Regions from separate parts of the Homo sapiens genome. Here regions 1, 2, 3, 5 and 6 are each linked to region 4. Evidence: promoter capture Hi-C in 16 types of primary human blood cells and fetal thymus (Javierre and others, 2016). All regions are on one chromosome and are shown on one strand. Each heading gives the region's core, a stretch centred on a gene start or on the middle of the fragment in contact. The rest is flanking DNA. Distances are from core to core; before and after follow the strand shown. Region 1 has its middle 310 kb from the start of CLEC14A. Region 2 has its middle 19 kb from the start of LINC00517. Region 3 has its middle 38 kb from the start of LINC00517. Region 4 holds the start of SSTR1 (somatostatin receptor 1). Region 5 has its middle 310 kb from the start of LINC00639. Region 6 has its middle 300 kb from the start of LINC00639.

Region 1 (4,767 bases), core at 1,243-3,742, 360 kb before region 4:
TATGAAAAATGTGTTTTGGACTCCCAATCTTTTCAGACTATCTGCATGATGTTACCTGAAATATCATGCCCTCTGGATGGCAGAGACCAAGAAAAAGAATATCCACACTTAGTCACCAGTCAAGCTCTCAAGGACATAAAATATGGTGAGAGGAGACTTTCGCCTGGTTTTTATTTTAGGAGCCCACAGCAATGTTTGTCTTAACAGACACTGGTGTAGTCAGAATACTAAAACTGAATAGTTTACAGGGCTAGCTCAAACAGTGGGCTTGTAGGGATTCTAGGACCGGGTATTAGCGTATGGTTCCCCTCTTTATGCAGAACACCACAGAAAGACAAAGCCAAGGAAAACAGCAACAAAAAGGCTATTTCTGAAGTGAAAGGAATCAAACAATATGAATATTTATACCACAAAGTACCAAAAGCACACTAGAGTCACTACACCCCAAAACTAGTCACACAAATCCTTTTTTCCCTTTAATCAAAACCTTGAGACAAAACAGTCATTTTTACCATCCATTCAACCAGATTTCACAGAGTAAGTCTAGGAGCCTGATTTATAAGTTCTTAACTTTTACTGGCTTGTTAGGATCCTGGGATCTCTTCACTGTGGCCTTCATAAGATCAGAATGGCTTTGGAGGTACCCTGCTTGCTGTGCCGTAACTGTGGGAGCCAACAGAGAGCTTTCCTTTTGGTCTTCTGAAGGTTCACTGAAAAATCAACGACATGAGTCAGATTGTTTAATAGAATAAAAGGCATACAAATTTATATAATGTTTATACACTGTAGCCTTCGGAATGAAGATTCTACCTTCTATTTTTTGATGTAGGCATTTAACACTATAAACCTGCCTTTAGCACTACTTTTGCTGCATCCCAAAGGTTTTGGTATATTGTGTTTCTATTTTCATTTATTTCAAAAATTTTAAAAATTTTCATCTTAATTTCTTTATTGACCTAATGGTTATTTAAGAGCATATTGGTTTATTTCTATATATTTGTGTAGTTTCTGGAGTTCCTGTTGGTATTGATACTTCTATTCCACTATAGTCTGATATGATTTGATATTTAGAATATGATTTCAATATTTAGAAATTTCTTGAGACGATATGATTTCAATATTTAGAAATTTCTTGAGACTTGTTTTGTGCCCTAAGATATTGTCTATCTTGGAGAATATTCTATGGGCTGATGAAAAGAATGTATATTCTGCAGTTGTTGGGTAGCATGTTCTGTAAGTGGCTGTCAGGTCTATTTGGTCAAAAGTCCAATTTAATCCAGTGTTTCTTCATTGATTTTCTGTCTCAGTAAAGTGTCTAGTGCAGTGAGTGGGGTGTTGATGTTCCTTAATATTATTGTATTACTAGCTATCGCTTTCATTAGGTCTAGTAATATTTGTTTTATGAATCTGGGTGCTCCAGCTGTTGGGTGCATATATATTTAGTATTATTATATCTACTTGTTGAATTGATCCATTTATCATTATATAATACACTTCTTTATCATTTTTTTTTTACTGTTTGTGATCTAAAGTCTGTTTTGTCTGACATAAGTATACCTCTGCTGCTTGCTTGTGGTTTCTGTTTGCATAGAATGTCTTTTTATTTTTAGTCTAAATGTCTCTCTAGAGATAAGGTGAGTTTCTTGTAAGTGGCATATTATTGGCTCATGTTTTTAAAATTCATTCTGTCAATATATATCTTTTAAATGAAGCATGTAATCCATTTACATTCAAGGTTAATATTGATATGTGAGTTTTGTTTTTGCTGTCATATTCTTGTTATCTAATTGTTTTCTAAATTCTTTCTCTGTTTTTCTTTGTGCCTTGGTAAAATTTTCTCATGTTGCCAGTTGATTCCTCTGTCTTCCTCCTTTGTGTGATTGTTTTATACGACTTTGAGTTTTATATTTTTGTGTGTTTTTATTATAGCACATATCAACCTTTCTTTTCCATGTTTAGGACTCCTTTGAGCATTTCTTGTAGGACTGGACTAGTGGTGATGAATTATCTCAATGTTTGCTTGTCTGGGAAAGATTTTATTTGTCCTTCATTTATAAAGCTTAATCTAGATGAACATAAAATTCTTGATTTACAGGTTTTTTAGTTGTTGTTGTTTGTTTGTTTCAGCACTTTGAAAACCCCACGCCATTCTTTTCTGGCTTGTGAAGTTTCTGCTGAGAAGTCTTCTTTTGGGGTTTCCTTTATAGGTGACTAAATGCTTCTTTCCTACTGACTTTAGAATGCTTTCCTTCATATTGTCTTTAGACAGTCTAATGACCATATGGCATGGTGAAGTCAATTTTGCAATTTATTTTCTGGGGATTGCTGAGCCTCCTCTATTTGAATGTCTAAATTTCTTCCTAGGCTAGGAAAGTTTTTGTTGATTACTTTATTTTATTCTTTTTTTTTTTTGAGATGGAGTCTTGCTCTGTTGCCTAGGCTGGAGTGCAGTGGCACGATCTCAGCTCACTGCAAGCTCCGCCTCCTGGGTTCACACCATTCTCATGCCTCAGCCTCCTGAGTAGCTGGGATTACAGGTACCCACCACCACGCCCGGCCAATTTTTTTGTATTTTTAGTAGAGACGGGGTTTCACCGTGTTAGCCAGGATGGTCTTGACCTCCTAACCATGTGATTCACCCGTCTCGGCCTCCCAAAGTGCTGGGATTACAGGCGTGAGCCACTGCGCCCAGCTGATTATTTTCTTAAATATGTTTTCTGAACTTTTTTCTTTTTCCTCCTCCTCAGGAATAATGTTTAGATTACTAAAGTTGGTCCCTTTATGTATTCCTATATATCTTGAAAGCCTTATTCTTTTAAAATTATATTTTCTTTATTTTTATCTGACAGGGTTAACTCAAATGACCTATTTTCAAGTTATAAGATTTTTTTCTTTTGCTTGGTCTAGTCTTTTGTTGAAGCTTTCAATATATTTTGTAATTCCTTCAATTAATTTTTCATTTTTATATGTTCTGTCTTTACACGGAAAGATATCTATCTCCTTTGCAAATTTTTCATTCATATTCTGAATTCATTTTTTAAAAAAATTTCTCTGTATTGGTTTTTAGAGACAGAGTCTCACTCTATTACCAAGGCTAGAGTGCATTGGCATGATTATAGCTCACTGCAATCTCAAACACCTGGGCTCAAGCAATATTCCCACTTCAGCCTCCTGAGGAGCTAGGCCTACAGGCATGCACCATCATGACTGGCTAATTAATTTTTTTTTTTTTTTGTAAAGACAGGGTCTCTCTATTACTGTGCCTGGCCTTGAACTTATGGCCTCAAGCAATCCTCCTGCCTTGGCTTCCCTAAATACTAGGATTACAGGTGTGAGCCACTACACCCTGCCTTAAAATCAATATTCTGAATTCCTTATATGGCATTTTGAGGATTTCTTTTTGGTTAGGATTCATTGCTAGAGAATTACTTTATTCCTTTGTGGCTGTCATAATACCATGCCATGCTTTGTGTATCTTTATTTAGATTTCTGTGCATCTGGAAAAACTGTTGCTGCTTCTTATTTTAAATTTACTTTCATTGGGGAAGGACCTTTTTTTCTTGAGGATGGGACTGTGATGTATTTTGAGTAGGGCCATTTGGCTTTGCTTCTTGGTGCATTCAGTGACAAAAATCCTGTATGATTTCTTGGTTCTATATACCTTTAGTGTGGTGGCTTTCTCAAGTGCTGGTTATAGTATGGTGTACCAAGGAAGTAAGACAGCTCATGACCTCCTGACTAGCTAGGGTGGCCTGGGTGGTGGTGGTAGCAGAGGCCACAAGAAGCTTATCTTTTTCCTAAGCACTGCATACTGTGCCAGCAGATGTTTTAACAGACTGTGCAGGTGGACCTACAGATCAGTAGATGACACTTGCAGGTAAGAGCCAGCTGTGATGGAAGCAGTAGGATATATGTCTGACTTCTGTTAACTTGTAGAAGTGTTCAGGTGTCCCTGGTGATGGAATGGGCTGTGAAATGCTCAGTGGTCTTTCTTGATGGATGGGCCATGAAATGCTCAGTGGTCTTTCTCCATGCTTTGTCTTGGAGTGGGGGGTGAAGCTGGGAAAAGCTGGACTGGTCCAGCCTGCACTTGGGCCCCCTGTGGCAGGCACAAGTGCTGACCCTGACAGGGATAGGGAGCAGTCCTCAGACTGCTAGAGAAATGCCTGGGCAAGGAGCAGAGCAACTGCTGCTGCACCAAGGTCTTAGCATGGGGAGGGAGGGGCAGTCCTAGCACCACAGCCTAGCAAGCAGGAGTGGGTACTGCTTTCCTCTGACTCCCATAACTGGCAGAGTTCATTCCCTTGTTTTGACTGTGGCAGCCAGTCAGGACAGTTAGTTTATTGCTGCAATTTGCTTCCAGTGCACAAAACTGTCCCAAGCTGTAAACCTTGCTGCCTGGGTCAAAACCATGCCTCCCCAGCAACTCTCTCCCTGCTCTAACCCCGTGATGGGGGGCTGCCCAATTCCTACACCAGCAGCTGGAGCTCACACCACATTTGCGTCTCAGGTCTGGCTAGAGGAGACCCTTTTTTGCTCCAGTCCCAGATCTCCAATCTATAGCCTATGTCTCTCTGATGCCAATGGCTGCCACTGCTTTTAGCTCCCAGGATTGCAGACAGCTTGCTCTAAAATAGGATCAAGAATGATATCCTTCTATAGGTGCCCAGGTCTTGGAGTGTCTGTAGGATACTTCCCTGAGCCACTCCTCCTATAGCTCCTGGCCTCTTCTTAAGTTAGATCCAGGGTTTGGAAGAATCAAGGTGC
Region 2 (4,959 bases), core at 1,625-4,124, 290 kb after region 4:
TACTTACCATTCAGCATCCACTGAAAACAGAGAATCTAATAAGTTTCCATTTAAGCCCTTTCTCCACCTCAGAACAGCAAAGATACAGGGAGAAGGTAAGAGGAAATATGGCAAAGAGGAAGCAAAGGTTGATTTTGCTTTTTGGGTTAAAAATTGCATACACTGGATCACCATGGTTTTGTATTTCCTTTATTTACTACGATTTTGGTTTTCTTTTTTTTTTTTTTTCTTTTTTTTTTTTGAGACGGAGTCTCGCTCTGTCGCCCAGGCTGGAGTGCCGTGGCGGGATCTCGGCTCACTGCAAGCTCCGCCTCCCGGGTTCACGCCATTCTCCTGCCTCAGCCTCCCAAGTAGCTGGGACTACAGGCGCCCGCCACTACGCCCAGCTAATTTTTTGTATTTTTAGTAGAGACGGGGTTTCACCGTTTTAGCCGGGATGGTCTCGATCTCCTGACCTCGTGATCCGCCTGCCTTGGCCTCCCAAAGTGCTGGGATTACAGGCGTGAGCCACCGCGCCCGGCCTGGTTTTCTAATTAATATTACTAGTACAACTTTTACATTCCAATCTGTTTCCAATGACAGAGCTTCTTGCACTAACAAAAACAACCAAGACCAGGAGTGTGTTTCAGAAGTCAGGAGCCGGAGTGACTCAGGGAGCCGAGCCAAAGACTTGCAGATCTGGGGGCGAAACTGGATCCTGAAATGAGACTAAGTGGCCACCATTTGCTTCCTGTTTAGACAGGTGTTCCCTTCTTTATTTGCTCCTTAAAAGCTGACTTTCTGCAATATATTAAGTATCTTGAAGATCCTAAATGTAGAAATTTTTGTAGGGTGGTGTAGGATTAGGTGGGATGGGTGGTCTTGAATTGCCTCAATAGACTTTGGTCATGGTTAAACCTGATCCATTTAGGGTAGAGTTTCCAAAGTAGGATGACAGATTTCCTGATTCCAAAGGTTCTTACTCAGCTATACAGTGAGTTGAAATCCCTCTGAGTCACTCTCCACTTATGAACATATGGCACTAAGAACAATTTTTTGGACCCTAACATCTTCTTACCATGTCCCGTACTTCACAGCCTTTCCTAGGGCTGACCCTAAGAATTGGCACATGGTTGTGTAGGTACACAAAGAGTAACTTGGAGAAGCTAGAAATTTGTTTTCATGTTTCATGTTTTCATATTTTTGACCTTTAGAAAATGAGTTTTACTGTGCAGAAGCTCTTTAGTTTAATTAGATCCCATTTGTCAATTTTGGCTTTTGTTGCCATTGCTTTTGGTGTTTTAGACAAGAAGTCCTTGCCCATGCCTATGTCCTGAATGGTATTGCCTAGGTTTTCTTCTAGGGTTTTTATGGTTTTAGGTCTAACATGTAAGTCTTTAATCCATCTTGAATTAATTTTTGTATAAGGTGTAAGGAAGGGATCCAGTTTCAGCTTTCTACATATGGCTAGCCAGTTTTCCCAGCACCATTTATTAAATAGGGAATCCTTTCCCCATTGCTTGTTTTTCTCAGGTTTGTCAAAGATCAGATAGTTGTAGATATGCGGCATTATTTCTGAGGGCTCTGTTCTGTTCCATTGATCTATATCTCTGTTTTGGTACCAGTACCATGCTGTTTTGGTTACTGTAGCCTTGTAGTATAGTTTGAAGTCAGGTAGCATGATGCCTCCAGCTGTGTTCTTTTGGCTTAGGATTGACTTGGCAATGAGGGCTCTTTTTTGGTTCCATATGAACTTTAAAGTAGTTTTTTCCAATTCTGTGAAGAAAGTCATTGGTAGCTTGATGGGGATGGCATTGAATCTATAAATTACCTTGGGCAGTATGGTCATTTTCACAATATTGATTCTTCCAACCCATGAGCATGGAATGTTCTTCCATTTGTTTGTATCCTCTTTTATTTCATTGAGCAGTGGTTTGTAGTTCTCCTTAAAGAGGTCCTTCACATCCCTTGTAAGTTGGATTCCTAGGTATTTTATTCTCTTTGAAGCAATTGTGAATGGGAGTTCACTCATGATTTGGCTCTCTGTTTGTCTGTTATTGCTGTATAAGAATGCTTGTGATTTTTGTACATTGATTTTGTATCCTGAGACTTTGCTGAAGTTGCTTATCAGCTTAAGGAGATTTTGGGCTGAGACAATGGGGTTTTCTAGATATACAATCATGTCATCTGCAAACAGGGACAATTTGACTTCCTCTTTTCCTAATCGAATACCCTTTATTTCTTTCTCTTGCCTAATTGCCCTGGCCAGAACTTCCAACATTATGTTGAATAGGAGTGGTGAGAGAGGGCATCCCTGTCTTGTGCCAGTTTTCAAAGGGAATGCTTCCAGTTTTTGCCCATTCAGTATGATATTGGCTGTGGGGTTGTCATAGATAGCTCTTATTATTTTGAGATACGTCCCATCAATACCTAATTTATTGAGAGCTTTTAGCATGAAGGGTTGTTGAATTTTGTCAAAGGCTCTTTTCTGCATCTATTGAGATAATCATGTGGTTTTTGTCTTTGGTTCTGTTTATATGTTGGATTACATTTATTGATTTGTGTATGTTGAACCAGTCTTGCATCCAAGGGATGAAGCCCACTTGATCATAGTGGATAAGTTTTTGATGTGCTGCTGGATTCAGTTTGCCAGTATTTTATTGAGGATTTTTGCATCAATGTTCATCAAGGATATTGGGAACAGGCAACATACAAAATGGGAGAAAATTTTCACAACCTACTCATCTGACAAAGGGCTAATATCCAGAATCTACAATGAACTCAAACAAATTTACAAGAAAAAAACAAACAACCCCATCAAAAAGTGGGCAAAGGATATGAACAGACACTTCTCAAAAGAAGACATTTATGCAGCCAAAAAACACATGAAAAAATGCTCACCATCACTGGCCATCAGAGAAACGCAAATCAAAACCACAATGAGATACCATCTCACACCAGTTAGAATGGCAATCATTAAAAAGTCAGGAAACAACAGGTGCTGGAGAGGATGTGGAGAAATAGGAACACTTTTACACTGTTGGTGGGACTGTAAACTAGTTCAACCATTGTGGAAGACAGTGTGGCAATTCCTCAGGGATCTAGAATTAGAAATACCATTTGACCCAGCCATCCCATTACTGGGTATATACCCAAAGGACTATAAATCATGCTGCTATAAAGACACATGCACACGTGGTTTATTGCGGCACTATTCATAATAGCAAAGACTTGGAACCAACCCAAATGTCCAACAATGATAGACTGGATTAAAAAAATGTGGCACATACACACCATGGAATACTATGCAGCCATAAAAAAATGATGAGTTTATGTCCTTTGTGGGGACATGGATGAAACTGGAAATCATCATTCTCAGCAAACCATCGCAAGGACAAAAAACCAAACACTGCATGTTCTCACTCATAGGTGGGAATTGAACAACGAGAACACATGGACACAGGAAGGGGAACATCACACTCCAGGGACTGTTGTGGGGTGGGGGGAGGGGGGAGGGATAGCATTAGGAGATATACCTAATGCTAAATGACGAGTTAATGGGTGCAGTACACCAACATGGCACATGTATACACATGTAACAAACCTGCACATTTTGCACATGTACCCTAAAACTTAAAGTATAATAATAATAAAATAAAATAAAAAAGAAAATGAGTTTTAATGAGAGGTTAAATAATTTGAAATAATTTTTCTTTGGAATATTAATTAAAATTTCTGAAAGTTTCTGGGCAGATATTTTAGGAACCTGGTATTAGTGTTTAAGTATCTCAGGAATACACTTCTGAATGAATTTAAAATTAAACTTTGGGCCAGGTGCGGTGGCTCCCGCCTGTAATCCCACCACTTTGGGAGGCCGAGGCAGGCAGATCACAAGGTCAGGAGATGGAGACCATCCTGGCCAACATGGTGAAACCCCGTCTCTACTAAAAATACAAAAATTAGCTGGGCGTGGTGGTTCGTGCCTGTAATCCCACCTACTTGGGAGCCTGAGGCAGGAGAACCGCTTGAACCAGGGAGTTGAAGGTTGCAGTGAGCCGAGATCGCGCCACTGTGCTCCAGCCTGGTGACAGAGCAAACTCCGTCTCAAAATAAAAGAAAAAAAAATTAAACTTTGGCTATGCTACATGTCATTAATAAAACACATCTTGTCCAGCTAAGCATTTTTAAAATTTTACGTGCAAAACACACACACATACATACCCAAAAATTGTTGGCAAAAATCCAGGGAATCAGACAGAGTTATTTTTCTCCCAAAATCTAACTCTGCTTTAAAAAATAAACACAGAGATATCAGCCTTCTAATCTCATACTCAAAGGATTTATCTTTTTCAAGCCAAAGATATTTGGAAATTAAGTTGAAGTTGGATATATAAGCTAGTTCTATACTTAAAGGGTATATGGATAACAGAATCTAAGGGTATTGTCATTTTCTTATAAATGGCTTTATTTTTACCAGAAATTAATGTTCTTTGTAACTCTAATAACATACATTAACAAAATGAAGAAAACTAAAATTACCTACAAATCTCATGACCCAGAGTAAATCGTTAATGTTTAAAAAATTATCCTTCTACTCTTGTTTCTAAAAATTAAATGTATTTTTTAAATTACTTTATACTTTATTGTGCTATCATTTATTAAATATTTATTGTCCATCTTATTAAATTTCATCCCACAATGTTATTGTAAATAATTATATGCATAGTTTAATACATGAGTATTCAATTATTTGATATAGAATTCTATGATGAATATCTTGAGTTATTATTTTCTCAATGAAATATTTCAGAAACCAAAAAGCATTTCTAAATTATACTCCAGAAATGCTGCACATACCCAGCAGCAGAATATGAAAGTGCTTTTTTCCAAATATCCTCATCTACATTGAGTATTAACATAATTTTAATCTTTAGAAATTTAATAGGTAAAAAATGATGTCCAATTATTTTTTGTGTATGT
Region 3 (4,568 bases), core at 1,294-3,793, 270 kb after region 4:
GTAATGAACTGCAACCTAATAAATACATAAATGAACTGAAGGTCTAATTTAGAAGTATACTTGATATGGTTTTGTTCTGTATCCCCACCCAAATCTCATACTGAATTGTAAGCCCCACATGTTGGAGGAAGGGCCTGGTTAGAGTTGATTGGATTAAGGGGGCAGAGTTCTCCCTTGTTGTTCTTGTGAAAGCCAGTGAGTGCTCATGAGATCTGGTTGTTTGAATGTGTATAGCACTTCCCTCTTCACTCTCTCCTGTCACCATGGTAAGATGTGCTTGCTTCCCCTTCACCTTCTGCCATGATTGTAAGTTTCCTGAGACCTCCCCAGCCATGCCACCTGCACAGCCTATGGAACTGTGAGTCAATTAAATCTCTTTTCTTGATAAACTACCCAGTCTCAGGTAGTTCTGTATAGCAATGTGAGAATGGACTCATACAATACCCTTAGATCAAATGGCTGAGTCTCAGTCAATTACAGTAGCTGAGCTTCAGTCAATCACAAGAGACTAACTGATTCAAATAACGCAAAACACCAACTAAACTGCCTCTGTATCTCACTTCTGTTTTCTGTCCATAAATGCTGCACAACCACATGGCAGGCCAGAGTTCTTAGAATCTGTTCTGGTTCTAAGAGCTGCATGATTCATTCATTAATTTTTCTTTGCTCAATTAAACTCTATTAAATTTAACTTGTCTAAAGTATTTTTCTTCAGCAAAGCTTTATTCATAATAGCTGAGAACTGGAAACAATGCAAATGTCCATTGAACAGTAAATGGATAAACTGTAGCAATATCTGTGCAATGGAAAATCATTTACCTATAGAGAGAAATGAATAAAATGATAAAAAGAACAATAGAGATGAATCTCAAAATATTTATGCTGAATGAAACAAGCCAAATGAAAAAAAAGACACATACTGTATGGTTATTTGTATAAAATACTTAAAATGCAAACTAATATATAGTAACAGGAAACAGATCAGTTGTTGCCTCAAGCAGTGTGGGTAATGATTAAGAGGACGGGCTTACAAAGGGGCATGAGCAAATTTGGAGGTGGTCATGATAGATATATTTACTATAGTCAGCCTTCCATATCCCCAGGTTCCACATCTGTGATTCAACCAATCACAGATTGAAAATACTTACAAAAAATGAAAAAATAACAATACTACTACAAAAATAAAAATGAAAAACAATACAGTATAAATACTGCTATTTATATAGCATTTGCATTGTATTAGGTATTATAAGTAATCTGGAGATGATTTGAAGTATAGAAGTGGATATGAGTTAGGTTGTAGGCAAAGACTATGCCAAGTCCTATGCCAAGGACTTGAGCATCCACAGATTTTGGTATGCAGGAGGTCCTGGAAACAATCCCTCACAAATACTGAGGGTTGACTATATATCAATTACGGTGATGGTTTCATGGGTGCATACCTATGTCAAAATTTATCAAATTTTACACTGTACATTTGTGCTGGTTATAGTAAATATATATGGTATAGTATTTTATAGACAACTGAATAATGAAGTGAATACACAATTAAAACTAGCTGAACTTCAAGTTTGCTGAGTGAGAGGCAAGATCATCCACAATATAAATATTTCCAGGATCTCCAACAAATTGTTTAAATTCATTTTTAAAAGCAACAGCTGCCTATGATATCTTTCCAATATTCTTTTTCTGAATATAAAGATTACCTTTCATGTCTTTGAAATGTACAAAATATCTGTGCATTTCTAAAAAACAAATGTTTTTCTAATGAAAGAAACAGTATAAGCAAAACAAATTCTTCCACTGCCCCACATCCTCTTAATACCCAACCACACCCACAGAAGAGTTGCAAACATTAAAAGAAATGATCAACACCATGTGCCTCTTGATCATAAGTAAACAAAAATATTCCACAAAAATAATTTGGTCAAGCAAGAAGTGGAATAAGTAAACATTTCTCCTTTGCTTTAAAGAAAAGGAGATTCACATTTTAATACTTATCTAACCATTATTTAAGGGAAAAATTAAATTAGATGTATTAGATTCCAAGATCTTCTCTGTAGAGAAAATCGATGTTATTAATCATTTATTGAGCCCAGTGCCCTAATGCCAAAATTTAAAACTCTCTCTTAGAGAAGGGCAGTGTAACAATAACAAAAACAACCATAACAATAATGGTTATTTTTGCTGATATTTGCTGAACACATAGTATATGCCAGGCAGTACTATAAAGTCATTTAAGCTTATAGCCTTTGAGGCAAGTATCGTTACCATTCTCATTTTACATTGTAGGACTGGAGACAGAGAGATTAAGTGACACAGCCAGTGAGTGGCAGAGCCAGGGTTGGAGGTCAGATAGTTCAGCTCCAGAGTCCACTTCCCGACTCCCCGTCACATGCCTCCCAGACACGGGTTTTGTGGCAGACAGACCTGAACCTGTTTTCTCACCCTGCTACTCTACTTAATTGCACAGTTTTCTCACTCTGGTTCTTAAACGAGTCTACTGCTGCCAGCCCCTCAGGCTGTTATGGGAATTCAATGAGATCAGGTAAGTCTCCTGCCACAGATCCAGGCCAGTAGGAGGCATTTGGTTATGGTTGCACAGGCACTGGCGATACAAAAACATGCCAGACAAGACCACTGCCCTTGAGGAGCTCACCTTTGAGAGTAGAAGAGGACCTGCAGTATTCCTTCCACAACTGCCAATTCTTCATTGAAAACACATTAAATTGTCTCTGCATTTCTTCCACAACTGTGTGCATATTGGATCCATGACTCCAAGTGACCATCGCTTTGTGTTGTGACTAGCCTGTGAGGTGAAATGAATGAAGAGTGGAAGCTTGGAAGTCTGGATTGTTGATTTCCAAACTTGTTCTCCCTCCTGCAACTGCACAGGCAGTGACGACTTCCTAATCTGGTAAAAAATATTATTCTAATTATGCAGTGCTTTAGAAGGCCAAATGTTATTGAACATAAAGTGCTTAGATGGTAGGCCTCATCAGCTCCAGCTCTCAAGTTTAATGGTTTTACACATGAAACCTTATGATGCCACAGTAGGGAGTTCATTTCTAATAAGGACTCATAGAAATCATTTTAAAATGCTCCTCCTACCACTAGAAAAACTGAATATTAAATGTGACTGAAAGAGAGACGGTGTCCCCCATAAAAGAACACAAATACAGAATGGTCAGGATACAGAAGAGCCCAGCATCATGAAAATAAAAGCCAGTACTTTGTGGAACATATTGAAGCAAATCAAATTTTTCATATACATCAATTATTACTGCAAAAAGTAGTAATCTATATTTGATATCCTGCAGATTCTGTTTTCCGAGTGCTAGCCCCTTCCACTTATTGAGCTCAGTGCCCTCATACTAACATATTAACCCTACTTTTAGAGAAAGGCAATGTAATGGTAACAATAATAATGGTTATTTTAACCAATAATTATTGAGCACTTAGACATACTAAGTGCCAGGCAATACTATACTCATTTATGCTGATAACAGCCCTATGAGGTGAGTAGTACTATCATGCTTATTTTACATCTTAGGAAGCAAGACACAGAGTGATCTAGTACTCAACTACATAAATTAAAGCAGGAACTTTATATGAGGTTTAAATGATTTGATACAATTTTCTAAGGAGGTGCAAAGAGACTCAAAACAAATCACTGAATGTGCACTGCATGGTTTCTTTTAGTTGGGTAGCATTGATCAGAAGAGAAATTTATAACATTAAAGGATGGAAATCACAGTACATATACAGTGGTTTGCACAATTGGGAGAAAATGATGCAATAAGTAGGAGACTACAAACAATAGAATGCTGTAGAGTCCTTAAAATTATGTTATAAAAAATATTTAAGCCTGGTGCAGTGGCTCACACCTGTAATCCCAGCACTTTGGGAGGCTGAGGCGGGGCAGATCACAAGGTCACGAGATTGAGACCATCCTGGCTAACACAGTGAAACCTCATCTCTACTAAAATTACAGAAAATTAGCCAGGCATGGTGTCGGGCGCCTGTAATCCCAGCTACTCGGGACGCTGAGGCAGGAGAAAGGCATGAACCCAGGAGGTGGAGCTTGCAGTGAGCCAAAATGGCACCACTGCACTCCAGCCGGGGCGATAGAGTGAGATACCGTCCCCCCACCAAAAAAAAAAAATTAATCACATGGGAAAATGGTCATGATACAGTCTTAAGTGAAAATAATTTTTAAAATATATACCACGACGATGAGGACACAATAGTGAACAAAGCAACCAAAAACCCTGCTTGTGGGGAGCTTACCTTCTATGATCACAACAAAAAATATATATATATGATAATAGATATTCAGGTATTATCTGTCTAGCATCTTTTTGAAAACGTATCCTTCTCCACTCTGATTCTCATAATATTCTTCAGTCCTTGAGTACTCAATCATGGGCCTCTTCTTGACCTCTACACCTCTGCAGGTCTTGGGAGTGGGAAGGTAACACAGCTGTAATTGAGTATTCAACACAGCTGTAGCCCATCACAGTAAGCCATCCTTGGGCTAGAGTGAGTGCTAAAAAATAAGCACATGT
Region 4 (4,798 bases), core at 325-2,824:
GGCCCCTGCTGCCGCCGCCTTCGCCGCAGCTGCCCGGGCTGGGGCTAGGAGAGGAGGAAGGAGAGGAGGCGGTGCCATTGGGGAACATCCCAGCTGAGGGGGGCCAGTGGGGCTGCCAGGGCTGGGGCTTTCTCCTCGCGCACCCGCCGCCTGCGCCCTCCCTCCCCACCCGACCGCTTGCCTGCAGCCCACAGCCGCCCAGCGCCTCCGGGTAGAGCGCAACCGCTGCGGGGAGCGCGGCTCCTACCGGCGCCGGCGGGGCGCACAGCCCAGCGGTTGCCTGGGCTCTGCAGTTTGCAGCTCCGGGGTGCCCGGGCACAGGCGACCGTGGAGAGGAGAGGCCAGGATGTGGGAGCACCGCACGGCACAGCCATTAACTGGCGCGGCTCTGGACTGGTAAATGATTAATAGGCACCACCAGCGCGTCAGCAGCTACGAAAAAAGGGGGTGGGGTGGAGAAAGGGAGGAGAGCACATAGGTGGCTTGTCCCCCCCGCCCCCCATTTTTTTCCTTCCCAGTCCTGCACTCTGCTCAACTTTAGTGGCTCCTTCCGGGGTTCCCTCGCAGCACCATCTGCCTCTTGCTCTCAGAGGAACCAAGAGAGTTCCTCGGCCTTACTGGAGGGCGGGTGGGAACCAAAGGTATAGATTCTGTCTCATTCCACTCCTCTCCTACCCAAAGCAAAGACTCAAACGGATCCATGAACATGGATGTCTGGAGTTCATCTCAGTTTCCCTCCATTGCTGCCCTTTTCTCTGGAGACCCCAGCTTCTCTCCCGTCCCGCAGTCCAGAACCCTAAATTCCCTCTTCCCACCCTCGCTTGCCTTGCAGCTCAGACCCGCCAGGGAAGTTCCGGGCCCTCCTTACCCAAAGTGCGCAACCTCCAGACTGAGACGTAGATGGTCGGTGCAAAGTGCATGTGCGGTCTGTTAGCAGGTTGACGATCTTCGCGCAGACCAACTCCCTTCTTTGCGCCTGGCCCCAGCACAGGTGCCCACGCAATTACTCTTAGAATCGCGGAAACTGGCCCTAAGCTGCGAGCGTTATGAGAAGAAAGGACAACCACCGTGCGTTAGGGGCTTCTGCGCTATAACACAGCAGGCAGCTTAGGCTATTGGGAGTGTTCAGGGACCTGAGTGAACCATTCGCAAATCTCTTAATAAAGCTCGTAGCGCTCAGAGCCCCCCGTGTCTCCCACAGGAATATCGACTGCAGAAACGAGGACGCGCAGCTGGGAGCTCTGGAGGAGCTTGAGACTCCCTCCAGAAACGTGCCAGGCGCGGTGTTGGGAATCCACCTAGGTGTTCACTCGGGAAAGATAAGGCTGCGCCGCTTGGAAGGGCTCCACCCGCGTCCCTGCTGTACTTTGTACCCTGGAGAGTTGGCGGGTTCTGGCAGACGAGAGTTTAAAGGCTTGGGCGGGCGGGGACGCCAGCTCTTCTAAATCCAGGTGAGGAGCTGCCGCCGTGCGATGACCAGACCTGTCACCAACCCCAGGAACGGCAGGGCGACATTCGAGTTTTTCCGGGAAGAGCTAGGATGTCAGCTCTTTCTGAGGCTTGATTTGTGAGCTGGCTCTGGGTCACGTGCCCAAACCATTAGGAGATATCAATGTAGGCAAGCCTGAAGCTCACTGACTTCATTTAAGAATCAAAACGGTTTTCCCGTAAGAAAGAATGTATGTTCCGTTATCAGGATTTTAAACGAACCCTGGGACTTACCACCATTCTTACTCTAGGGTCTCTTTGGCTTTCCAACTGTTCCTGTGGAAGGAAGAATCACACTCCATGCAACTTCCCTGTTCCTTTTCATAAACGTTGCTTTGCTCGGTAAGATCCCTGCAAGCCTTTATTTGAAACTAGCCTGTTCACAGGAAGAGTGACCCGCAGCAGCTTAGTGCTCTGCCTCCTTCAAGCTTTGCTGTCTCCAGTTTTTCCTTAGTTTCTCCTTCTCCTCAACCAGGCTGTGCCCGCTGTACTGTAAGTCTCAGTTTTCCTCCTCTCAGTAGAGTTTACTCCAAGGAGAGGCTAAACTCCTCATGGAGGCTATCTGTACCGGTCCAGAATGAAGAAATGGATGCAGAAATTAAAAACAAAAAAGTATATTTCCTAATGCCCTGTTGCTTTATCCAGGTAATCACTTACATATACTGCATGTGTTTTAGTTCCCAAAACTAATTGTCTTGAACAGGAAAGAATAACTTCTGTAGTGTGTTGATGATAGCAATCAAAGACTAAAATAAATGACAGACTTTCATAGGAATGTGTGCAATTATTAATGAGGAATGTGCTAGGATGGAATTTGAAATTTCATACGGCTGAAACTGTTTTAACCCATTATTTTACCTGAACAAATTGCCTTCTTTAAAGTGGAATGTACAATTGGTGTTTAGTTATATTTATTTTTCCTTTACAAATACAGCACATATGGAGAGAAAATAAATGTTCATTAAGTTAAAAGAAAAGAGAGTGGGTATTGTCCCAGAATCCCAGAAGAGCATTTTACTAGCCAAGCCTCATATAATGCCTTAGATGCCTCTGCCAATCACTGACTAAAGACACCTGACTATCTGTACCTCTGGGAGCTTGGATTTCAACAGTCATTATTTAGATGCCTTGGCTTTGATCATGGTTGCTCTTTGGGAAGTGTGTGATGGGAGTCAGTGAAAAACAGCTCTGTTGTTCAGAATTTCATTAAATTCACTTTCAGCTCATCTTAGGGAAAATTTCTCTCAATTTTGTGGCCTCATATACAAAAGAAGAAAACTTAAGACCTGACGTGAGAATGCTTTTTATTTTTATTTTTTTGAGATGCCACTTTTCACCCACTAGGATGGCTATAAGAACATTTTTAAAAACAAAAAATAAACGTTAGTGAGAATGTGGAGAAATTAGAACACTCATACATTGCTGGTGGGAATAAAAAATGATGCAGCAACTTCAGAAAAAAATTTTGGCAATTGCTTAAAAAGTTTAAAAGTTTAAAAGAATGACCATATGAGCCAGCAATTCCACTTCTATTTACTCCTCAAAATTGAAAACAGGTGTTTAATCAAAAACTTGTGCATGAACATTCATAGCAGCACTATTCATAATAGCCAAAAATTAGAAACAATCCAAATATCCATCAATTGCTGAATTAATAAATTGTGGTATATCCATACAATGGAATAGTATTCAACCATAAAAAGAAATGAAGTACTAATACCTGCTTCAGCGTAGACGAAGCTTGAAAACACTATGCAAAGGGAAAGAAGCCAGACACAAAAGGCCACGTGTGGCATGATTCCATTTATATGACATGCCCAGGGCAGGCAATACATACAGACAAGGTACGTTAGTGGTTGCCAGGGGCTGGGGGCAGAGGGGAAAGAGGAAGGACTGCTTAATGGGTATGAGCTTTCTTTTTTGAGTGGTGAAAATGTTCTGGAATTAGATAGTGGTGATGATTGCATAACATTGTGAATATGCTAAAAATCCCTGAATTGTACACTTCAAAAATGACTAAAATTATAAATTTTATATTATGGGAGTTTTACTTCAATTTTAAAAAGCATGAGAGAAAGACAAAGAGAGGGATTGAGATGGATATAAGCTATGCAGCATTATTAAATCTTTTCAGTTATGTATTTATTTTTAAATTATTATTATTATTATTATTATTATTATTATTATTATTATTTTGAGACAGGGTTTTGCTCTATCACCCAGGCTGGAGTGTAGTGGCACAATCACAGCTCACTGTAGCCTTGATGTCTCAGGCTCAAGTGATCCTCCCACCTTAGCCTCTGGAGTAGCTGGGGACTACAGGTGTGCCCCACGATGCCTGGCTAATTTTTAAGGTTTTTGTAGAGATGGGGTCTTCCTATCTTGCACAGACTGGTGTGGAATTCCTAGCTCAAGCAATTTTCCTGTCTCAGCCTCACAAAGTGCTGGTATTACCCGTGTGAGCCACCGTGCTCAGCCCAGTCATGTATTTCTAATTATTGTATTTGTGAACTAATCTATGAACAACAAAAACAAACAAACAAACAAAAAGGGTGGCATTTCTGGGCCACCAGGAAGGTGGATTGGGGTTGCAGCTATTTTCAAATTATATTAAAAGCAGGATCCCAGTTAGAGCGCTATCTTCCCCTCAGATCTCAATTTAATGTAAATATTTCCAAAGAAAAAGGAAAACTGATATGGGCATGAGATCACTTTAATTTGCAAAAAACGCAGCCAGTGAATAGTCAGGACTCAACAATCTTCTTGTCTTGTTAAAAACTTTTTAGGTTCACATGTCTAAAACCTTGAAAAGATTAGGAAGAGCTTGTTTTCTCCCTACAAGTTACCTGTCCTCCAGCCCTCTTTGGTTACCATCTTTCCTATGCCTCTGTGATATGAACATTTATAGATAGAAAAGAAGGAGATGTTTTCCAGAAAGGGGAAAATGAAATGTTCCAATTTAGGAAGTTGCAGATTCTTGAGCAGACTGATTTTCTTCCCTCACTGTAACTTTCTCCTACAAGCTATACTCTCCTGTGCTATCATGTACCAGGTGCACACTTTGATTATTATATTTATCACACTGTACTGTGGCTTTTTGTGTACTTGTCTGTACCCTCTTATAAATTTGTAAGCTTGTGGAGACCAGGGGCTTGCATTTTATTTATTTTTCTATCCCCAGCATCTAGTGCAGTACCTACAAAATTGCCCCAAATCACCTTGTTTTATTTTGTCAAGGCATCCCATGGATAGTACTTTCCTCTTTTCTAGATTATAAAATGTAGATGCAAAGAAATAAACTGTGAGCTCC
Region 5 (4,922 bases), core at 1,711-4,210, 390 kb before region 4:
CAGACTTTATGTTGCCTCCTTGTGTCACTCTTTGTCATTACATCTTCAATTTATCAAGAATAATCCAACTTTCTGCTGTTACTAGCTTATATTTTCTAACATTAAAATTAGGAGAACTACTGCCAGAGTCTCCTAAGAACTCACCTCATGTCTTCCATTCTTTTTCAGGATATAAGAAATGACTATTCTGAGTGTAATATGCTTATCATAGCAAATTTGTTGAAATGATTAATTAATAATTGGGACCTCCCCAATAGCATATCAGTGATGCATTTTAAACAAGAAGAGACTCATTGAATGCTTGCTTTTCCCAGCAAATTGATTTGATATCAACTGTGACAGCTAGAGACCACCTTGGCCACAGATTCCCAAGAGAGTTCCTGTGGTAGGCAAGTATCTCCAAGACCTGTGGACTTACAACTTCTGGCCATGTCGACGTCTGATTGATTTTTTAAAAAAATTATTAATTTTATTTCTTATCTTTTAGTTGAAAGTGTTAGGCTTTTTCTTTATTTTTCTAGTGTTCTTCTGAGAAATTAAAAAATATAACATTGATTTATCGAAATTATTAGTGAATAATTTTGCTCCCTTCCTGGGTGAAGCAAGGAGCTTAAAACACTTAGCTTCATTTACATTCTTCCCAACCTATGTGTTATTATTTTTTGTACTGTCAATGTTTATTGAGATTTACTCACAGCTTTCCAAATATCTTTGCTCATTATTTGTATTTTTTGACCTCTGTATCTTTCTCAACAATTATTTTCCCATTCTCTAAAAACATCCTTTACAAAGTCTTTTGGGTGCAGGTCTCTTAGTGGTGAAAACTTTCCATTAGTCATGTACCTAAAAAATGTCTTCATTTTGCCTTTATTTTTGCTGGTTCCAAATTATTGGTATTACTAAATTTGATCATTGATATTTTTCATTAGTTTTAGAAAATTTGAAGCCAAAATCTCCACAAACATTGCCTGTTATCCATTCTTTTTCTCTTCTTCTAGATGTTGAAACTTAGAATCTCTCATGGAATTATCTGTCTTTTACCTTCTTTTTTGTGTTTTTTACCATTTTCTGAAGGTGTGCTGCATTCTGGAGAGTTGCTTCTGACCTGTTTTCTGTTCACCGTCTCTTCACCTGTGCAATATATTGTTAATTCTGCCCATTGAATTCTTAATTTTATTTATGAATTATTCAGTTCTAGGATTTCAATTTGTTTCTTTTTCAAATCTGCAGTCACTTTTTGTAGTTGTCAGTTTCCTACTAAAATTTTACAGCTTACTTTTCTTCTCCTTGAAAATGTTAAGTATAGTTTTACTGTGTCTAACTATGCCTGTGGCTATATTGGATATTTTTATTACTCCTTGTTCTTGCCCATGGTATCTTGCCATGTTTCAGTGAGTGCTGGACATTGTGTTTGAAAAAGTATTTGTTGAAATAATTTAAAACTTAGGATGATATTATTTGCCTCTGAAGAGGGGTGCTAACAATCTAGAATATCCTTACTCTAAGCTTCACAGCTTGAAATTTTAGGGGCCACTGAAATTTGGACAGGGATGGAGTTGGAGGCCATTATCCTTAGCAAACTAACACAGGAACAGAACATGAGTTCTGATTGATTTTTTAAAAAATCATTAATTTCCTTGCCTTATCTTTTAGTTGAAAGTGTTAGGCTCTTTCCTTGTTCTTTTAGTATTCATTTGAGAAATTACAAAATACATCATTAATTTATCAAAATATGTGGTTAAATACCATATATTCTCACTTATAAGTGGAAGCTAAATGATGAAAACACATGGACACATAGAAAGGGACAACAAATACTGGGGCTTATTGGAGGGTAGAGAGTGGGAGGAGGGAGATGATCTGGAAAAATAACTAATTGGTACTAGACTTAATACCTGGGTGAGGGAATAATCTGTACAACCAAACTCTATGACACAAGTTTACCTATGTAACAAACCTGCACATTTACCCCTGAACTTAAAAGTTAAAAAAAAAGGAAGACTGCAGACTGGTCAAGGATTGGTTTATTTTTGTTTCACCACTACTCTGAGGGCATAGCCATTTGGGGGCTCAATACTCTGTACTGGGTGGGGCCTGAACTCTGACATTCTCCCTTAGCTCAAAAAGGCTTTCAGAAACACCTATGGGCTCCCTCTTTCAGATCAGCAAATGCCCCCAGGTATCCCTTTCCCCAAGTCTTAGATTTCTGCCCTGTAATTCCTTATTATACTGACATGCTTTTGATGCTTTTAAGAAACTTTTTAAATAACATATTTATATCAAGTTTTGTGTATTTTTTTCCCAGAGGGTAGTCTGATTTGGTTTGAATTACTTTATCCCCTCATACCTAAAGCAGAAATCTCTTCATCTCTTTATGTCTTCCATTCTATTTTCTTGGCTTCTCTTCTCTCAATCTCTCTCTCTCTCTCTCTCTCTCTTTCTCTCTCTGTCTCTCTCTCTGTATGTGTGTGTGTGTGTGTGTGTGTGTGTGTGTGTGTCTAGCTTTTGTTCTCAGTCTCTCTCAAAATACTTCTGGAGTGCCTATTTTTTCAGAAGAAGAATACATGGAAGATAAACACTTCATTGGTAGTTTGTTTATGTATAAAATTCTTGATTTAAAGTCATTTTATCTCAGAATTTTTAAGACATTTTCCCACTGTTTTTAACATTTATTGTTGCTTATGAGAAGACTAACATTATTATGTCTTTGGTTTGGCTGTACATACAGGAAATCTTCCTTCTGTTTTCTAGGAAAATTAGCACCAGATCAGTCCACTTATTATAATCCATTTAAAATGGATTATTGGGATGCTATTTTCTGATAAGAATAAATGATACCATGCTATGACATCTTCTAAGTTTATATTTCACTTTCCAACACAATCATAAAGATAATAACTTTTATAAAAATATTTCAAGACTTTTACCAAGGGCCTATCTTAAATCCTTTGATTGTTGAATGATTCTTCTTTGAAGACCCGTTCTTGTCATTTTTTTTCTGGTTGATTTTCTTCTCCTTCATCCTTAATTGACCTGCCTCTGCTAATCCTCATTTAGCTAACTTTGTTGGTGACTTAAAAGGTTACCAACACTTTTATCTACTCTATGAAATCTTACATCTTTTCAAGTTTTGCAATTTTACTTTGAAATAAAGTTGTGTTATGTATTTATCACACATTTATTAAGATAGGGTTGGGGTATTTGAGTGAGTCAGGATTAATTTTACAAGTTCATTAATGAATACTTTTGAGGCATGACTGCTTCCCTACGCAATTTCATGGCTATAAGAATTCAGATAATGGGGCATGGCTGTCAAGATGGCTGAATAGGAACAGCTACAGTCTGCAGCTCCCAGTGAGGTCAATGCAGAAGGTGCGTGATTTCTGCATTTCCAACTGAGGTACGTGGCTCATCTCATTGGGACTGGTTAGACAGTGGGTGCAGCCCACGGAGGGCGAGCCGAAGCAGGGTGGGGTATTCCCTCACCCAGGAAGCACAAGAGGTTGGGGGACTCCCTCCCCTAGCCAAGGGAAGCCATGAGGTATGTGCTGTGAGGAACAGTGCACTCTGGCCCAGATACTATGCTTTTCCCATGGTCTTCATAACCCGCAGAGCAGGAGATTCCCTCAGGTGCCTACGCCACCAGGACCCTGGGTTTCAAGTACAAAACCAGGCAGCCCTTTGGGCAGACATCAAGCTAGCTGCGGGAGTTTTTTTTTTTTTTTTTTTTTTCCATACCCCAGTGGTGCCTGGAACGCCAGCAAGACAGAACCATTCACTCCCCTGGAAAGAGGGCTGAGGCCATGGAACCAAGTGGTCTAGTTCAGTGGATCCCACCCTCACGGAGCCCAGCAAGCTAAGATCCACTGGCTTGAAACTCTTGCTGCCAGCACAGCAGTCTGAAGTCGACCTGGGATGCTCCAGCTTAGTGTGGGGAGGGGCATCTGCCATTACTGAGGCCTAAGTAGGTGGTTTCCCCTTCACAGTTTAAAAAAAGCTGCCAGGAAGTTCGAACTGGGTGGAGCCCACTGCAGCCTGGCACAGCCGCTGTAGCCAGATTTCCTCTCTAGATTCCTCCTTTCTGAGCAGGGCATCTCTGAAAGAAAGGCAGCAGTTCCAGTGAGGGACTTATGGATAAAACTCCCATCTCCCTGGGACAGAGGACCTGGGGGAAGGGGCAGCTGTGGGCAGAGATTCAGCAGACTTAAATGTTCCTGCCTGCCAGCTCTGAAGAGAGCAGTGGATCTCCCAGCACAGCACTCAAGCTCTGCTAAAGGACAGACTGCCTCCTCAAGTGGTGCCCTGACCCCCATGCCTACTGACTGGGAGATACCTCCCAGCGGGGGTTGACAGACACTGCATACAGGAGAGCTCCAGCTGGCACCTGGCAGGTGCACCTCAGGGACGAAGCTTCCAGAGGAAGGAACAGGCAGCAATCATTGCTGTTCTGCAGCCTCCACTGGTGATACCCAGGCAAACAGGGTCTGGAGTGGACCTCCAGCAAACAGCAGCAGACCTGCAGAAGAGGGGCCTGGTTGTTAGAAGGAAAACTAAAAACCAGAAAAGAATAGCATCAACATCAACAAAAAAGATGTCCACACAGAAACCTCATCTGAAACTCATCAACATCAAAGACCAAAGGTAGATGAATCCGTGAAGATGAGGAAGAACTAGCACAAAAAGGCTGAAAATTCCAAAAACCAGAATGCCTTTGTGATCCAAAGGATCACAACTCCTCACCAGCAAGGGAGCAAAACTGGATGGAAAAATGAGATAGATGAATTGACAGAAGTAGGCTTCAGAAGGGTAGGTAATAACAAAATCCTCCTAAAGGAGGAGCTAAAGGAGCATGTTCTAACCCAAGGCAAGGAAGCTAACAACCTTGAAAGAAGGTTAGACAAATTGCTAACTAGAATAAACAG
Region 6 (5,135 bases), core at 277-2,776, 410 kb before region 4:
TGATACTACCTCAGCCTGGATTCCATTGTCCATATCATTATGAGCATTTAGGTCAAAGCCATTCAACAAGTCTCTAGGAAGTTCCAAACTCTCCCATGTTTTCCTGTCTTCTTCTGAGCCCTCCAAACTGTTTCAACCCCTGCCTGTTACCCAGCTCCAAAGTTGCTTCCATATTTTTGATATCTTTTCAGCAGCACCCCACTCTACTGATACCAATTTACTGTATTAGTCCATTTTTATGCTGCCTATAAAGACATACCTGAAACTGGCCAATTTACAAATGAAAGAGTTTTAATGGAGAACTCACAGTTCCGTGTGGCTGGGGAGGCCTCATAATCATGGTGGAAGACAAGGAGAGGCAAGTAACATCTTACATGGATGGCAGAACTTGTGCAGGCAAATTCCCATTTTTTTAAGCCATCAAATGTTGCAAGACTTATCCATTATCATAAAAGCAGCACTGGCAAGACCCGCCCCCATGATTCAGTTATCTTCCATCGGATCCCTCCCACAACACATGGGAATTATGGGAGCTGCAAGGTGAGATTTGGGTGGGGATACAGAGCCAAACTATGTCAACAAGATTAGGTAGTTAATTTGAGATATGTCGGTCTTTTTGCTGTAGGCATTTAATACTATAAACTTTACTTTTAGCATTGTTTTTGCTGTGTCCCAGAGGTTTTTTTATGTTGTGTCTTTATTTTGATTTGTTTCAGAAAATTTTTTGATTTCTGCCTTAATTTCATTGTTTACTCAAAGGTTATTTAGGAGCAAGTTGTTTAGTTTTCAAGTACTTGTGTAGTTTTGAGAGTTCCTCTTGGCATTGATTTCTAATTTTATTCCACTGTTGTCTGAGATGCTACTTGATATAATTTGATTTTTTTTTGAACTTATTGAGATTTGCTTTATGGCCAAGCATATGGCTGATTTTGGAGAATGTTCCATATGTAGGTGAGAAGCTTGCATATTCTGTGATTATTGGATGAAATGTTCTAGAAATGTCTACTAGGCCCAGTTGGTCTACAGTCTGGCTTAAGTCCAGAGTTTCTTTGTTGATTTTTGGACTCAGTGATCTGTCTAGTGATGTCAGTGGGTTATCGAAGTTCCCCACTATTATTGTATTGCTATCAATCTGTTTTCTTAGATCTAGTAGTATTTGTTTTATGAATCTGGGTGCTCCAGTATTGAGTACATACATATTAAGGATAGTTAAATCTTGTTTTATTGAAGACTTTATTATTATATACTACATTTTTTGCCTTCTTTTTAACATTATTGGTTTCAAGTGTGTGTTAATCTGATGTAAGAATGGTTATTCCTGCTCCTTTTGTTTTCCTTTTACATCATATATCTTTCTCCACCCTGATATGATTTGGCTTGTCCCCAGCCAAATCTCATCTTGAATTGTAACTCCCACGATTCTCTCGTGTTATGGGAGGCGATCATGTTATGGGGGTGTGTCTTTCCTGCATTGTTCTTATAATAGTGAATGAGTCTCACGAGATCTGATGGTTCTAAAAATGTGGGATTCCTGCACAAGCTCCTTTTCTGTTTTTTTTTTTTGCCCAATTTTTATTCTGGCCATGCTGGCAGCTGAGTAGATTGTGCCCACCCAAATTAAGGGTGGATCTGCCCTTCCCACTCGACTGACTCAAATGTTAATCTCCTTTGGCAACACCCTCACAGACACACCCAGGATCAATACTTTGCATCCTTCGATCCAATCAAGTTGACACTCAGTGTTAACCATCACACACCCCTTTGTTTTGAGTCTGTGTCTGTCTTTAAATACAATTTGCCACTTTGTAGCTTTTGTGTAGAATATTTAGGTTATTTGGATTCAAGATTAATATTGATATGTGAGGTTTTGTACCTGTCATAAAGTTTTTAGCCTGTTGTGTTGGAGTTTCAATGCTTTCTAGGATTATGAGCTTTGTACTTATATGTCCTTTTATGATGGCAAGTATCATCCTTTAGTTTTCATGTTTAGAACTCCTTTGGGCTTTTCTTGTTGGGTCATTCTAGTATCAGTGAATGTCCTTAGCATTTGTTTGTCTGAGAAAGAATTTATTTTCCTTAACTTATGAAGCTTGATTTGGTAGGATATAAAATTCTTAGCTAGGCATAGTGTCTCATGCCTGTAATCCCAGCACTTTTGGTGGCCAAGGCAGGAACATTACTTGAAGCAAGGAGTTCAAGACCAGCCTGGGCAACAAAGTGAGACCCTGTCTCTGCAAACAAACAAACAAACCAAAAAAAAAAAAAGAAAAAGAAAAAAACTGGAAAAAAAAATCTTGACTGACACTTCTTTTCTAAGGAGACTAAAAATATGCTCCCAGTCTCTTCAGGCTTGTGGGATTTCTGCTGAGAAGTCCACTGTTAGTCTGTTGGGATTTTCTTTATAGGTGATTAGATACTTTTCTTGCCACTCTTGGGTATTTTTCCTTCATACTGACTTTGGATAGTATGATGACTATATGCCTTGGTGAGGTTCTTCTTGCAATGTACCTTCCAGAAATTTTCTGAGCTTCTTGTGTATGGATGTCTAAATGTCTCCCAAAACCAGGGAAGTTTTTTGAATTATTTCCTCAAATAAGTTTTCCACACTTTAAACTTTTTCTTCTCCCTCTCGAATACCTATAAACTCAGAGGTTTGGATGATATAATGTATGTTGTGTAGGGTCCTTTGCCTTTGGTTCTGGGTGCTTTCAGTGGCAAAGGGTCTGTATATGTTCTTTTGTTATAGATAGCCTTTTTATGGTTACTTTTCCAAATGCTGGTTGGGTAGAGATGTACTTGGTGTGTGAACAGGCTCACTGCCTCCTGTGGTGCAAGGGTAGTGAGAGTCTCAGGAGGTGTATCTCATTCCCCAGTGCTGTGCACTTATGTCAGATTTTCTTTGGTGTTGTGCAGTTCAACCTCCAGTCCAATAGGTGGTGCTTATGGGTAAAAGCTGGATGCAGGCAATGCAGATGGGTACACACTTGATCTTTGTGTACTGGGAGAAACTCTCTGTTTCTTCACACAATGGGCTGATCTGTGGAATGTTCAGTGATCTGAGCTCTCTGCTCAGTCGCAGAATGGGGGAACCAAGATAGGTGGTGCCAGACCAGGCAGGCCCATATGCAGGTCCCCCAGTGACAGGTGCAAGCATCAGCTCTGAGGGGGTCCAGTGGGCAGTTGCCAAGTGTACATGGTGTGCCTCTGCTGTCCTATGTTCTCTGCATAAGAATGGGGGAGGATGGCCTGAATTCCTAACCTGTAAGAGTGGATGCTCCAAATGCCTGCAGATATATCTGGACATCAAGTAGAAAGAGTACAGCTGCACCAAGTTCTCTGCACCAGAAGGAAGGGACGGCTCAGCCTTGTAACCCAAAACAATGAATGTGCCAAATGCCTGGAAATATGCCCTGGCAAAGAGCAAAGATATTGTTGTTGCAACAAGGTCTTTGCAGGGGAGGATAGGGCCAGCTCAAGCTCCTAATTTGGGGTAGCAGATGCCCTTCAAATTTGGTAATATGCCTGGGGAAGGAGAACAGAAACCATTGCCACAACAAGGTAGTTGCATGGGAATGGCAGGGCGACTTAAACTTCTAATCTGTAGGAGTGGTTGTGCCAGATACCTCCGGTTACATCTGGGTATGGCATAGAGGGAGTGCTCCTGCACCAAGTTCTTCATGTGGGAAGGGAGTGGCAGCTCAAGCTCCTATTCCAAGGGGGAAGGTGCACCAAAAACCTGAAGATATGTCCGGATGTGGAGCAGAGAGTGTGCCACTGCAACAAGATCTCTGCATGGGAAGAAAGAGGTGGTCCAAGCTAATAATCCAGGTGAGCAGCTGCTCTGAATGAATGGAAATATTCCTGGATGTGGAGTGGAGGAAGCACTACTGCACCAATATCTGCACAGGAAGAGAGTAGTGGCTTACACTGCTGATCCAGGTGGGCAGGTACTCCAAATGCCTGGAAACATGCCTGTGCATGGAGTGGAGAAACTACCACTGCATCAGGATCTGCATGGGAAGGGAGGGGGCAACTTAGGCTGCTAATCTAGGCAAATGGGTACTCCAAATGCCTGGGAATGTCCCGTGGATGGGGCACCACTGCACCCAGATCTTTGCAGGGGAAGGAAGGCTTGGCTTACGCTCCCAATTCAGATGAATATGAATGGGGTCTTCCTGTCTCCCACTCCTCGCAAATGGTAGGGTACTCTCCCCTGAATGACCAAGGGTGTAGGCTGGGGCATCCAGCAATGACACATGCAGACCAATTTCAGGTTGCAAAGCTGTCCCTGGCTGCAAGTCTCACTGTGCAGGAGAAACCTTGGCTTCAGCAAGTTTTCTCCTGTTCCAGTCCTGCAATGGGAGAGAGCCCGATCCAGCACCTACTCCTGCTGGCATGCACTCCACACTTGCTGCTTAATTCTGGCTATGAGGGCCCTTCACCTGCTGCAGAGCAAGTGCTCCAATCTCTGGCCTGAGGCTAAAATGCCTGCAGCAGCTGCTGCTGTCAGGTTGCCAACCATGACTGACTTTGTGTGAGTCCAGATTAAAAATGGCATCCTCCTCTCAGTCCTGGGTCTGGGAAGATGCTTGCAGCTTTTACCAGCATCATTCCCTCTCTCTGTCTCACAGTATCTCCCCAGGGTAGTCCCAGGGCTCGGGAGAAAAAACGTATTCCCCCTCAGCCCGGAATGCACAGATTCCTAGTGGAAAGGTGAGTTACAGAGGAAGACTCTCTGCCCTTCTCAGGTACTGGGGTGGGGCTTCACTCACATTTAGCAGGCAAATGTCATCATGGGGGCTGTTTGTCCACATTCTCTTCCCCAGGATCTGAAATGTACTTTGCTATTCTGGTGAATTCCTATTTTTCTTCTTGAATTAAAGCTCAGAGTCAATCTTTACACACGATTTTTCTATTTCCAAGTGTCTGTAGCGTGCTGAAAGCCTCTAATCTGCCATCTTCTTGGCAGGGGTGGGAACCTTGTTTTGTTGATTATTTTCTCTGTGGTGAAGAAACTTTAGTTTGATGTAGTTCTACTTTATTTTTGCTTTTGTTGCCTGTCATGGACTACACTTTGAATAGCAAACATCTAATCCACTGGAAAAGGCATGATATTCTTTCATTATCGTAAGCCT

The links. Contacts are between HindIII fragments. The CHiCAGO score rates a contact against its expected background, and 5 or more counts as called.
Region 1: a fragment that was not itself captured here is called in contact with the fragment with the promoter of SSTR1 in region 4 in 1 of 17 cell types (endothelial precursors); the score reaches 6.0 in endothelial precursors.
Region 2: a contact is called between a fragment that was not itself captured here and the fragment with the promoter of SSTR1 in region 4, in 2 of 17 cell types (neutrophils and naive CD8 T cells). The highest score is 6.9, in neutrophils.
Region 3: a contact is called between a fragment that was not itself captured here and the fragment with the promoter of SSTR1 in region 4, in 2 of 17 cell types (non-activated CD4 T cells and neutrophils). The highest score is 5.8, in non-activated CD4 T cells.
Region 5: a fragment that was not itself captured here is called in contact with the fragment with the promoter of SSTR1 in region 4 in 1 of 17 cell types (endothelial precursors); the score reaches 5.5 in endothelial precursors.
Region 6: a contact is called between a fragment that was not itself captured here and the fragment with the promoter of SSTR1 in region 4, in 1 of 17 cell types (endothelial precursors). The highest score is 5.9, in endothelial precursors.

Annotation. Positions count from the first base shown.
Region 1 is chr14:38,561,223-38,565,989 of GRCh38, reverse strand. No RefSeq gene overlaps it. Among named protein-coding and RNA genes, the nearest start is that of CLEC14A, 310 kb to the right of the region's middle. The HindIII fragment of the contact is 861 bases long and covers 2,062-2,922 here.
Region 2 is chr14:37,918,723-37,923,681 of GRCh38, reverse strand. No RefSeq gene overlaps it. Among named protein-coding and RNA genes, the nearest start is that of LINC00517, 19 kb to the right of the region's middle. The HindIII fragment of the contact is 8,978 bases long and covers 1-4,959 here.
Region 3 is chr14:37,937,651-37,942,218 of GRCh38, reverse strand. No RefSeq gene overlaps it. Among named protein-coding and RNA genes, the nearest start is that of LINC00517, 38 kb to the right of the region's middle. The HindIII fragment of the contact is 597 bases long and covers 2,245-2,841 here.
Region 4 is chr14:38,204,680-38,209,477 of GRCh38, reverse strand. It overlaps SSTR1 (somatostatin receptor 1), which reads right to left and starts at 1,574. Exons shown (of 3, transcript NM_001049.3): 1 at 1,374-1,574; 2 at 869-1,035; 3 at 1-432. The coding sequence starts at 88. It overlaps LOC124903303 (a long non-coding RNA gene), which reads left to right and starts at 191. Exons shown (of 2, transcript XR_007064117.1): 1 at 191-396; 2 at 1,202-2,263. RefSeq lists enhancers at 1-127, 1,111-1,772. The HindIII fragment of the contact is 9,392 bases long and covers 1-1,918 here.
Region 5 is chr14:38,600,677-38,605,598 of GRCh38, reverse strand. It overlaps the pseudogene LOC100422334. Among named protein-coding and RNA genes, the nearest start is that of LINC00639, 310 kb to the left of the region's middle. The HindIII fragment of the contact is 2,904 bases long and covers 1,509-4,412 here.
Region 6 is chr14:38,616,512-38,621,646 of GRCh38, reverse strand. No RefSeq gene overlaps it. Among named protein-coding and RNA genes, the nearest start is that of LINC00639, 300 kb to the left of the region's middle. The HindIII fragment of the contact is 1,130 bases long and covers 962-2,091 here.